2 separate regions of the Homo sapiens genome follow, and region 1 is linked to region 2. The links are contacts of gene promoters, found by promoter capture Hi-C in blood cells and fetal thymus (Javierre and others, 2016). All regions are on one chromosome and are shown on one strand. Each heading gives the region's core, a stretch centred on a gene start or on the middle of the fragment in contact. The rest is flanking DNA. Distances are from core to core; before and after follow the strand shown.

Region 1 (5,614 bases), core at 2,286-4,785, 280 kb before region 2:
CTCAGACTGAGTTACACCAGTGGCTTTCCTGTTCTAGAGCCTGGAGACAACATACTCTTCAGCCTCCATAATCACATGAGGCAATTCCCCTAGGAAGTCTCCTCTTATCTCTCTATATATCCCCTTGGTTCTGTTTCTCTGGAGAACTCTAATACAGTCCCCTTCCAGGAATGCCAGCTCCCCCAGCTTCCTAGGCACCACCCCTGCACAGCCCATGCCACTCCTGTCTGCCGCTCCAAGCATGTACCTATCCAAGGTCTGGCTCAAGCCACACTGCATCTGGACAGCCTCCCCTGACATTGGACAATGAGCTCGCCTTCCTGTAAACCCACTGCTCACATATTCATTTTACACTTGCATGTGTCATTTATCTTTTTTTCTTTTGAGAGTCTATTCATCACCCAAGTACACTGTTTATGACAGAAACTCTTTTACGTCTCTAACAATCATCATGCAGCTCAGTGACAACATGTTCAAGCCATGTTTACTGCTGCTGACGTCTGCCAAGTGAGGTCAGATGAAGGCTCAACAGAGGATGCCTTGTATCAGCTCAGCAGCTGGGCTCTTCTGTGGCCGTGCACTGGGGTAAAGACATGGAGAAGGAATATGGACCTTGCATAATTGAAGGAGCAAGGCTGCCTTTCCTTCTCTTGCCTGCTGACATCTCAGGCTCAAACACATGACCTCTTGCCTCAAGCCCCCCAGCTTTGAGAAGCCCTCTCTTTGCAGCAGGGAAGACACCAGTGGAGGGCCTAGAAACAGGATTTGCTGACGCGCTTCTGAACACAAGGTCAATCAGATGGATCCTGACCTACATTCCAAATGCAAGGAGAACTGGTCACTGCCATGTACAGCTTTTACTTTTCTCTTGAAAAGGCAGTGCCACACCATTGCATAGAGAGGTCATAGAGAGATTCATTAAAGACCTTGAAAAAAAACATGTCCTATGTTGACACAAGGGCTGGGCACTCATGCAGCAACAGTCAAGAAGGCCCACGGGTGCTCAAAGAACAGAGCAGAGGGGAAGAAGAGCAACAAGCTGAGCTGCCCATGGCCGACCATTGAGCTGGATGCTGGCCACGCAGAGAGGTTTGCAACAGAGTTTCTGTCTGGGTTTAAATTCTCAAACATCCGTGTCTGAAAGAATCACCCAGAGAGCTTGTGAAAATGCATCTTCTTTAGTGTTGTCCTCACAATAAACTGAAACAGAAGGTGGACCAAGAAATAGAGATTTTTAACAAGTCCCCAGGTAATTCTGATACAAAAGGCCCATTAGCCACACATTGAGAAACATAAGTTTAGAATGCTATGCTTTATCCGACGTTTACTTACCCCCAAAAACTGAGAGTACCACTGATAAAAAAGAAAGTAGAGCTTCTCATAAATGGATGCAGTGGACTCTGTGACTCCCATCCACTCACCACAGCTAGGATACAAATGTTCCTCTAAGTACCCAAATATACTTTCAGTATCTGGTAGAGCTTGTGTGCAAATATGACCCCAATGAGCTATCCCTCCGGGTATCCACACTGAATCTGGGCTGGCCCTGTGGCTGGCAAAACCAATAGAATGCAGTGGAAGATCCACAAAGCAGGCCTCAGGCCAAAGACTTAAGAAGGCCTAGCAACTTCTATTTTCACAGTTTTGGGAGCCTTATACCACCATGTATAAAGTCCAACAACCCTGATGGAAAAACATGTAGAGAGGCCGCATGGGTGGGCCCTGAGACCACATAGAGGGAGAGAGAGACAGACAGAGAGACAGACAGACAGACAGACACCCAGCCATCTCAGTGTCCCAGCTGAGCCCAGCCTTCTAGCTGCCCCTGCTAAGGTACCAGGCATGTAAGTGCACCATCTTGGAAGTTCCAGCTTAGTCAAGCTCCCTACTGACTGGAGCCCTCCGCAGATATCACATCAATTAGAAATCATCCAGCTAAGCCCCAACAACCCCAGTCAACCCACAAAAGAACTAATTTCCGTAATACTAGTTCTTATTCTATACCATGACTTAAATCAAATATTATTGCTGCATCACAAACCACCCTAAAACTTAGTGGCTTAAAACATCAAGTACTGTATTAGCTCTCACAATTTGGAGAACATGGTAGATAAAAAGGACTAACTTATGTAAAGCATATTACAAAGTACTTTTATATTCAGTAGCTCATTTTATCCTGACAACATGCTGTGGGTTAGGAAAGGCAGATTCATGTTATTCCCATCCAGCAGTGTTTTTAAATGACTTGTTTGAGATGGCTAGATTAGTTAGTGGCAGAGCTGATCATGTGATCATGTGATGTCAAATACAGGGCTATTTCTTTGCAGGCGTAGCCAGTTGCCCTGAGGGTTCAGCAGAGGATAAGGTGAGCTGGGACAAGGGTCTGACAGGAGCTAAAGAGAAGGTGATAGCACAGATGACCAGATGCAAAGGCTCTCTCTGATGGCCAGCCTTCAGAGAGGCTGATGGGGTAGGAGTCAGGTAGACAGATGAGGAGTGACACTGAGGCGACTCAGCATAAGAGAATTGAGGACATGGTGGCAAATGGTTGGAAAAAGCCATCCCTGATCTGATGGGTGGGCTAGATGTGAAAGAGCAGAGACTTGCATGGTGGGTCAGTTCTGTCTGCCCAGGAGTCCAGCAAGCCTGTGAGCAGCCTGGCCAAGGCTTCACACCGGGCTCCCCACCCAACTACAGCTTGTGTCCTCGTCATGCAGGGTCTGCTCCAAGGTGCCATGCTCCCTAGCTCTGTCTGTTATAGGAAGTGGGTTATGGGAAGTATCTTCAAGACAACTCTTCTAACAACTCAACCGTGGGCCCCTCCAGGGGAAGAATGAAGAATCCTGCTATAGGGTGTAAAATGTCAGGCAGTGGGTAAACAGCTACCCCACCCATTGCATGCCCTTCCTGGCCCTTGTCCCACTCCTCCATGAGCCTCCTCTCCAGCCCTGGATTTCCTTCCTGCAGCTGGAACACATGTCCTGAAGACCCTAGCAGACCAGGCCCTCTATGCATCCTTATAAGGCAGTTCAGGCTCTAGCCCAAAACCTAGATGAGGCCACAGGTTCCTTCAAGGTGCCTGTGCATTAGGAAGAGGGGTAGGAGTGAGCGCCTGAGAGCCGTAAGCACTCTACCACCGGGAGTGCCCGAGAGTTGGCCCTACTGCCTGCAAACTCTTGGGAGCTTGTTGCTTCTGGGCGTGTGTGCCTGTGTGTTTGTGTATGTGTGTGGCCTATGTGTGTATATCCACATCTCATGTAGAGAAGCCTAATCCATGCATAGTGCATGTGGAATTGGCCATGAATTTTACAGCCAGGAAACTTCCCAAAGGCAGAGTTGTGAGTCGCAAAAGAAAAATGTGGGGAGAAATCTATTTCTTTTGAAAAAAAAAATCCTCCCTCCCCCATTGCAAGGGTTGCAGTGAGTTAGTAAACAGCCTCTCTATACTTACTACAGAGACAAGTATTCAGAATCGGAGGAAACTCCTTTGATGAAGGCACAAATGGGAAGAGAAAGGAAGACATTGTGGAGACAGGTTGACAACACCACAGTGAGACACAATGAACACAACAGTCGGGGTACATCCACTTGGGGCTCTGGCCTCAAGCAGACGGGTTTCTTCTGGCAACACTGGGCCTGCACAGGAGGCAATAGTTTGCTTGTGGAGGGAGCTCAGGGTTGGGGGATTCTATCAGAATCCACACGTGTGGCCGTTCTACTCCAGAGGGAGAAGATTCCAATAGGCCACCAGATTTCTGCTCTCTGGGTAGCAGGACAGCTCTGTCTGGTGGGGGTCTCCGGGGACCTGGGATGGAGTGTGCATGCCCTGGAGTGATTCCAGGAGCTCAGTAAAGATACTTTTATGATTTAGGTGGCCAGGAACTATAATTCTTATCCACTTTATGTATACTATTAACCATAACCGTAATTGCATCTTAAATTATTTAAGTCCTGCTTTTACTCTTTCAAAGTATGTTTTCACCTACACTTCCCTTATACATATATAAAAAGGGACTATATGAGTAGCCCCATCTGACAGTCAACAAAACTGAGGCTCAGAGATGCTGATTTGCTAAAATTAGCTGTTATTACTAGTTAGCAGTTCAGTTGGGCCTCGAACTCCGTTCTTTAAGCTAGTAGCTCTCTATTGAAGCTGTTTTCAACCTGGAACACACTTTAGATTCCCCTGGAGAGACGTGAAAACTCCAGGCTGTACTCCTAAACCCACCTGACTCCAGACTTTTCTGAGTTTTCCTTAACTCAGAAAAGCTGGGGATGGGATCCAAGAATCAAGACGGTTAAAGCTCCGCAAGTGATTCCAATGTGCGGTTAAGGTTGAGTATGACATCATTACCCTCACCTGGGAAATTCAGCATCTTAGGCCACATCCCAGACTTACTAAGTAGAATCTTCAGTTTCACAAGATCCCCAGGTGGTACCTATACACGTTAAGGTCTGAGAAAGGGGCTAGTGCATCTGGAAAGGCCTAACAGCCCCGGCCATGTCTGAGTTGGGGCAAGGAGCCGGGGGCCAGCCAGTAACTTATTCTTCATTGCTTATACTGGGTTTAAGCTGCAAGGTGTAGTGTTATAGCTTGTGAGTGAAACAACATGAAACTTGATAACCCCTATTTCTGATTTCCTAGAAATAGCAGAGGGGAAAGATTTTCAGATTAGGGGCAACACGAGTGGAAGGCAGGGCACCTTCCCAGCCTGCAGATGCACCCCTCTCCCTCCCTCCCAGCCTACTCAGCTGGACTCACCCTCTAAAGACTTGGAAGGAGAGACTAAAGGGCTCTTTGTCTCTGCCTCCTTCGCTGGGCTCTGCACTGGAGAAGCAGGTGCAGACTTTGCAGGTGAGCCAGGCTCTTCTGGGGCAGTTTCTTTCTCTCCTGAAAAAACAGAAAAACACCTCAGGATAGAGGTCAAATAGAGAAGAGATGGGCAGGGAAATAAAGCCTTTTAAAAATTACTTTTTTCTATTTGGTCATCAATCCTCCTGGCTGATAATGAGACTTCTAGCTGAAGTTAGCTCCTCCCCCTGACCTTCTTAGATTTCTGCTACTTCCCTGGGAAGGCCAATGGGAGAGGGTGGAGTCATGTTTCCTTCATCAAAACACACCTACCAATATGTTACTCCAGATGTGGAGGGCAACGCTGAAGAACTCGCACACGGCCGGACCAGAGCCTGGCTCTCGTTCCTGTCCTGTCTCTGAAGAGAACCAGCCAGGAGCTTTGTGTCGTGAGCACAGAGCACATCAACGGGTAAGAGGTGGACCCACAACCACCAACTCCCCTTATTTTATTTTTTGCTGACTCCCCTTAAAAACACCCATGATTTCTTTGCATGTAACTATTGTTTAATTCATCAAATTTACATTTTCTGTCCAAACAATCCCTAGGGATAAAAAGTGCCATGTTCCTCTATTTGCTTTTCAATTGGCACATTAGAGCTCCAAGCAAGCCAGCAAGGGTTTTTTGGTTTTTGCTGTTGTTGTTTGAGATGAAGTCTCCCTCTGTCACCCAGGCTGGAGTGCAGTGGTGTGACCTCAGCTCACTGTAACCTCCGCCTTCTGGGTTCAAGCAATTCTCCTGCCACAGCCTCCTGAGTATCT
Region 2 (5,166 bases), core at 1,317-3,816:
TTGTTCATCTTCAGCTCCAGAAGCCCAACACAGCATTTTTACTGAACACATAGGCTATAGTAGGTGCTCAGCATGTTTGCTCAAAGGAAAGGTGAGTACATTAATGAGATAAATGAATGAATAAATGTTAGCATGACTAGCTATGCACCTGTCAAAACCTGAGCCAACAATATTAAATAAATCAGACCCATTCTTTGCTAACAAACAGATTCTGAGTTCATACGGACATTACCACTTGACCCCCCAGTGTAAGGGACGCCCCAGGAGGAAGTGTGGCTGAGTAGTTAAGTGCAGCACACTGGGTTTGGATTTTAATCCCAGATCCATCCCACTCTTTTCTGCTAGCTACATGCCAACCCTAGATCAACAGCATTAGCACTGCCCAGGAACGTGTTAGAAATACAAATTCTTGGGCTCCACCTCAGACTGACAGAATCAGAAGCTCTGGGGGTAGGGCCCAGAAGTCTGTCCTCACAAGCCTTCCAGGTGAACTGATGCTCAAGTTAGAGAACCATCAATCTCGGATTGTAAATCCCAGTTTCCTCATCTATTAAATAATAATAGGATTATTGTGAGGTTCACATCAGACAAATGTAGTATTATTCTCCCTTGAGAATAGCCAGCAATGTTTCTGCCTGGAATGCAGAAATGCTAATAAGCCTGATTCAACAGTTGGTGCCACCTCCTGCCCCCTCTCCACCTCCACCACACTCTCCACCAGACCTGCCATTCTCCATGGGACCCAGTGTGGCATGGAGTCGGAACCTATACAGGTGTCCATTTTCTCCACTGTAAAATGAGGCCGATCTAGGAAACCAGAACTAGGTCCCCAGACCTGTGGTTTTGCGACTATCGGATGCATCTGTAGCTTTGGCAGAGAAAAATAATTGGGTGGTGGAGGCACCTCTCCCCATCCCTCTCCGTTGCCCCTACCCCTTTCCCTCTACCAGGATTTGGCAAATGCTACAATTCTGTTTCTACAGCGCCACCTTCTGCCCACATTGAATCACACAGGCAATTACTCTTCCTGCTTCCGTCCTCAAATGTAAGAACATTTGAGGGAAGAATTTTGTGTAGATCAGAGGTTCTTAGCCCAAGGAATTAGGCCCTTGAAATTGTGTGCAGACCTTTGAAGGTATGCATGAATGTGCCTGTGCATTTTTCTGGTAGGAGTTTCTACAGTTTCGTCTGATTTTTCAGGGTTCGTGACCCAGAAAAGTCTAACTCTCTGATTTGTATAAGTTGAACAAGCATCAGAATATCAGGGGTGCAGGGGGCTTGTTAACAGGCAGATTGCTAGGCCCCACCCCAGAGCTCTGATTCAGCATGCCTGGGGTAGGAGGCCCAAGAATGTACATTTCTATCAAGTTCCTAGGTGATGCTGCTGGTATGGGGACCACACGGAGAACCTCTGTTCTAGAGAATCTTCTGACTCCTGTAGTCTGTGATTCAAATTGGTCCCTGTTTGAGAATTGGAGTAAGCACTCACCTTAACCACCAGACTCCATCCCCAATGTCTGTGGCTGCTTTCAAAAGAGTCTGCATCAGCTCTGAAGACAATTTCCAAAGAGGAGCCTCCGCACTGCCCTGGCCATTGTCAGCAGGAGGGACCTTAGAGGCAGCATTCCTGTGCACAAATCCCGACAGGCTTGCTAAGAACTTCCAGTCCTCCGTGTGTAGACAGCAGCTCCCCTGTGCCTGGCCACTTGCTGGTTGAGAGCTCAGTTGAATCTCCAGCACGGGGTTACATTGCACTGAGTCATGCCCTCTTCCTGCAGCCCTCTTAGTAACCGACATCAACCGAGTTGATGGGATCAGGCCTGCTCAGTATGCGGCTGGGAAATAGGGCCCCTTAAGATACAAGCTCCTGGACTAGCTATCCCCCACGGGAATTCTCCCAGGTACCCACTGCCATAACTGGTCATGAGATCCCACCACCAACAACAATAACGACGAACATCCAGCACACACTTAGAGCCTGGGGCTCTTCCTAAAGGTTCCAGACACTACACCCTCCATGCCTGAGTGTGAAAACCTGATGGCCCTTCCCCAGATCTGACCACAATTTCTGCCATTTAAAGTTCATTTTCTCTGATTTTGTCCTTCAGGGACACAGAACGCACCACTCTCCTCTCCACTCTCCTCTCCTGCCACCCTCCCTCTCTCACCCACATAAACTCACATGAAAATGATCACTTTTTTTTTTTCTTTTTGAGACGGAGTCTTGCTCTGTCGCCAGGCTGAAGTGCAATGGCACGATCTCTGCTCACTGCATCCTTCTTCTCCCGGGTTCAAGCGATTTTCCTGCCTCAGCCTCCCGAGTAGCTAGGACTACAGAAAATGATCACTTTTAAATCACTCCACCGCCTGATTTCTTTGGGGCACACTCTGGCCTGTGTTCTGTACAGCAACTTTTCCCCTGAGGTTGAAACAGCCCTCCGTCACCTCCAGGGAGATGACAAATAATGAGGCAGGGCCCGTTTCGTATCGAAACACAGGTTATCAGAGTGGGAGAGGAAAACGAGCCGGGACGTGTGTTCCACGCGTTTCCCAGGCCCTCGCTGTCCGTGCTCCTGGGCTCCCTCTTGTGGTTGAGAACCCAAGACGCCTGGGTGTTCGGAGCTCCTCCCACCTCGGAGCCCTCCTCCCCGGCCGGCCTAGTGCTGAAGCCCCCACTCCGCAAGGCTGAGGGGTGGTTTGGGGAACCACAGGTCACCTTCCTGGCATCCTCTTCACAGGACAAGGGAGGACTCAAGGTAGCGCTCCCTTCCGTGTGATTGTCAGGGCTGCAAACCTAGTCTCAAGTTCGACCAGCAGGGGTTCCCTGGCGGAGTGGTCCCTACTTGGTCACACCTTGCTGGGGAATTGGACCCTCCGCCCCAACCCGCAAGCCCTTAAGGTCACTAGTTTGTGGCCAGTAGGTGATATAACGATAGTAATGATGATGATAATCACCAGCACTGTGCTGTAACATGTCCTAAAAATGTATTATATTTTAATTGCAAAAATAATACATGCTCCTTGTAACTTAGTGAAAAAGAGGAAAGACACGTAAAGTTAACTATCTGCCCCTAACCGCTTTATTCTCAGCCCCGAAAGACCCTGCTGAATACGCTCAAACACAGGCAAATATGTTAGAGGTTGACCTCGGGGTCAGTCCCTTGAGAGCCAAGGGACTGACAGTGGATCCACTGACAGTGTCAGCGGATACACATTTTACGCATTCTTTTGGATACTGGCATAGCAGGCGATAGTATGGATGTACTGTAACTTACTCAATAGTCCCATTATTGACAGACATTCGTATGTTCTCAGGTTTTGCCATTACAAATAGTACAATATTGTATCCCTTTTAAACGGACGCTTTTGTGGTTATAGGATAGATTCCCAGAAGTGGAATTGCTGGTTCAAGTACTTTTTTATTTCAAATTAGATATTGACAATTTGGGGCAAGATGGCTTGCCCAGAAGGGTTGTGGTAATTCACATTTCCACCAACCAGGTATGAGAGGACCCACTTCCCCACATCCTTGCTGGCCCTGAATATGTTCTCTCTGTAGTTTTACCTATCTAATAAATGAAAACTAGTACTGTCTCGCTTTTATTTACATTTCTCTGATAACTAGGAAAGTTGAGTGTCTGTCCATATGTTTACCATTTTGATTTTGCTTCCTTCTCCGTGAAATCTTCCTACCAAGCAAGTTGTGCATACGGGAGCTCCTTGTTTATTGCTCACAGGCTATCTTTTGCAACAATAAATGAAACAAAGATTTCATCTATTGTGTCTCTGCCATACAGAAGTTTGAAATACTCATATGATCAAATATTTTTTGTTTATACCTTCTGAATTTCTTGTCTTGCTTAAAGACATTGCTCATCTGTCTTTTAATTGGATTATTCAGAAAGATAGGAAAGAAGAAAAGCTCTTCCAGTATTTTTTAAAAATTGTTTTTACTTTATATTTAAATTTTTTTTACATGCCTGGAATGTATTTGGGTTTATGATGTGGTTATCTTCTAACTAGATATCCTCTTATGTTCTATATATTATTTCCCCTCTGAGAATTAATTAATATACAACATTTGTTCTATAATAGTCCTATAAAATCTGGGATCTCCTTCTGGACTTTTTTTCTTTCCTACTGATCCATTTGTCTACCTCATATCAATTTACTGCTTGACTTCAGTAGCTTTATAACAAGTTTTAATATCTGAAAAGGCAAGTCCTCTATCTCTGATCTTTTTCATAACTACTTTGGCTATTCTCAGACATTTATGTGAACTTTAAAATAATTTTATTAAATTTTAAAATAAACAATAATCCATTAGGGTTGGATCAAATTTATATACTTTTCAAAAGGATTAATGTTTTTATGCTAGTAACTAAGAACATTAAGACAATAATGTTCTTCATTGTTTAGGACTTGTTTTATGTTATTCCATAATTTTTTTTTGTACCTTTCTTGTTATATTTATTTCTAGCTATTTTATGAGTTTTGGCCCTATTGCAGATGGGATGGTTTTCTCCGTTGCCTCTTCTAACTGGTTACTACTAAAATAGAAAAAAAAGGAGGGGGGGAATGATTTTTAAATATTTATCTTATAAACAGCCAAATTATCTTATTCATTCTAAAACCTTCTTTCTAAACCAGAACCTCTTGAGTCTTTCTAAATGTATAATATAATCTGCAAATAAAGGGAATTATGTCTCTTTTTCCGTCAGTATACTTTTACTTTACTTTTTATTTTGAAACAATTTCAATTTTATAAAAATTTGCAAAGATAAAAATAGTAGTAGGAACATCCATGTCACCAACGGTTAATATATTATCTCATTTGCTCTATCATTTGCTCTCCATGTGTGACTGTGTGTGCATAATTTTTTCCTGATTTTTTTTTTTTTTTTTTTTTTTTTTTGAGACGGAGTTTCACTCTTGTTGCCCAGGCTGGAGTGCAGTGGCAAAATCTTGGCTCACTGCAACCTCCAGCTCCCCGGTTCAAGCGATTCTTCTGCCTCAGCCTCCCGAGAAGCTGAGATTACAGGCGCCCTCTACCACGCCTGGCTAATTTTTGTATTTTTAGTAGAGACAGGGTTTCACCATTTTGACCAGGCTGGTCTCGAACTTCTGACCTCAGGTGATCTGCCCGCCTCGGCCTCCCAAAGTGCA

The links. Contacts are between HindIII fragments. The CHiCAGO score rates a contact against its expected background, and 5 or more counts as called.
Region 1: a fragment that was not itself captured here is called in contact with the fragment with the promoter of ATP6V1B1-AS1 in region 2 in 1 of 17 cell types (M2 macrophages); the score reaches 5.6 in M2 macrophages.

The regions. Positions count from the first base shown.
Region 1 is chr2:70,668,116-70,673,729 of GRCh38, forward strand. It overlaps ADD2 (adducin 2), which reads right to left. Exons shown (of 16, transcript NM_001617.4): 15 at 4,763-4,891. It overlaps LOC105374794 (a long non-coding RNA gene), which reads left to right and starts at 5,140. Exons shown (of 3, transcript XR_940230.3): 1 at 5,140-5,264. The HindIII fragment of the contact is 7,132 bases long and covers 1-5,614 here.
Region 2 is chr2:70,946,045-70,951,210 of GRCh38, forward strand. ATP6V1B1-AS1 (ATP6V1B1 antisense RNA 1) reads right to left here and starts at 2,567. Exons shown (of 2, transcript NR_110274.1): 1 at 2,183-2,567. All of the region lies in intron 2 of ATP6V1B1 (ATPase H+ transporting V1 subunit B1), which reads left to right. The HindIII fragment of the contact is 10,354 bases long and covers 1-5,166 here.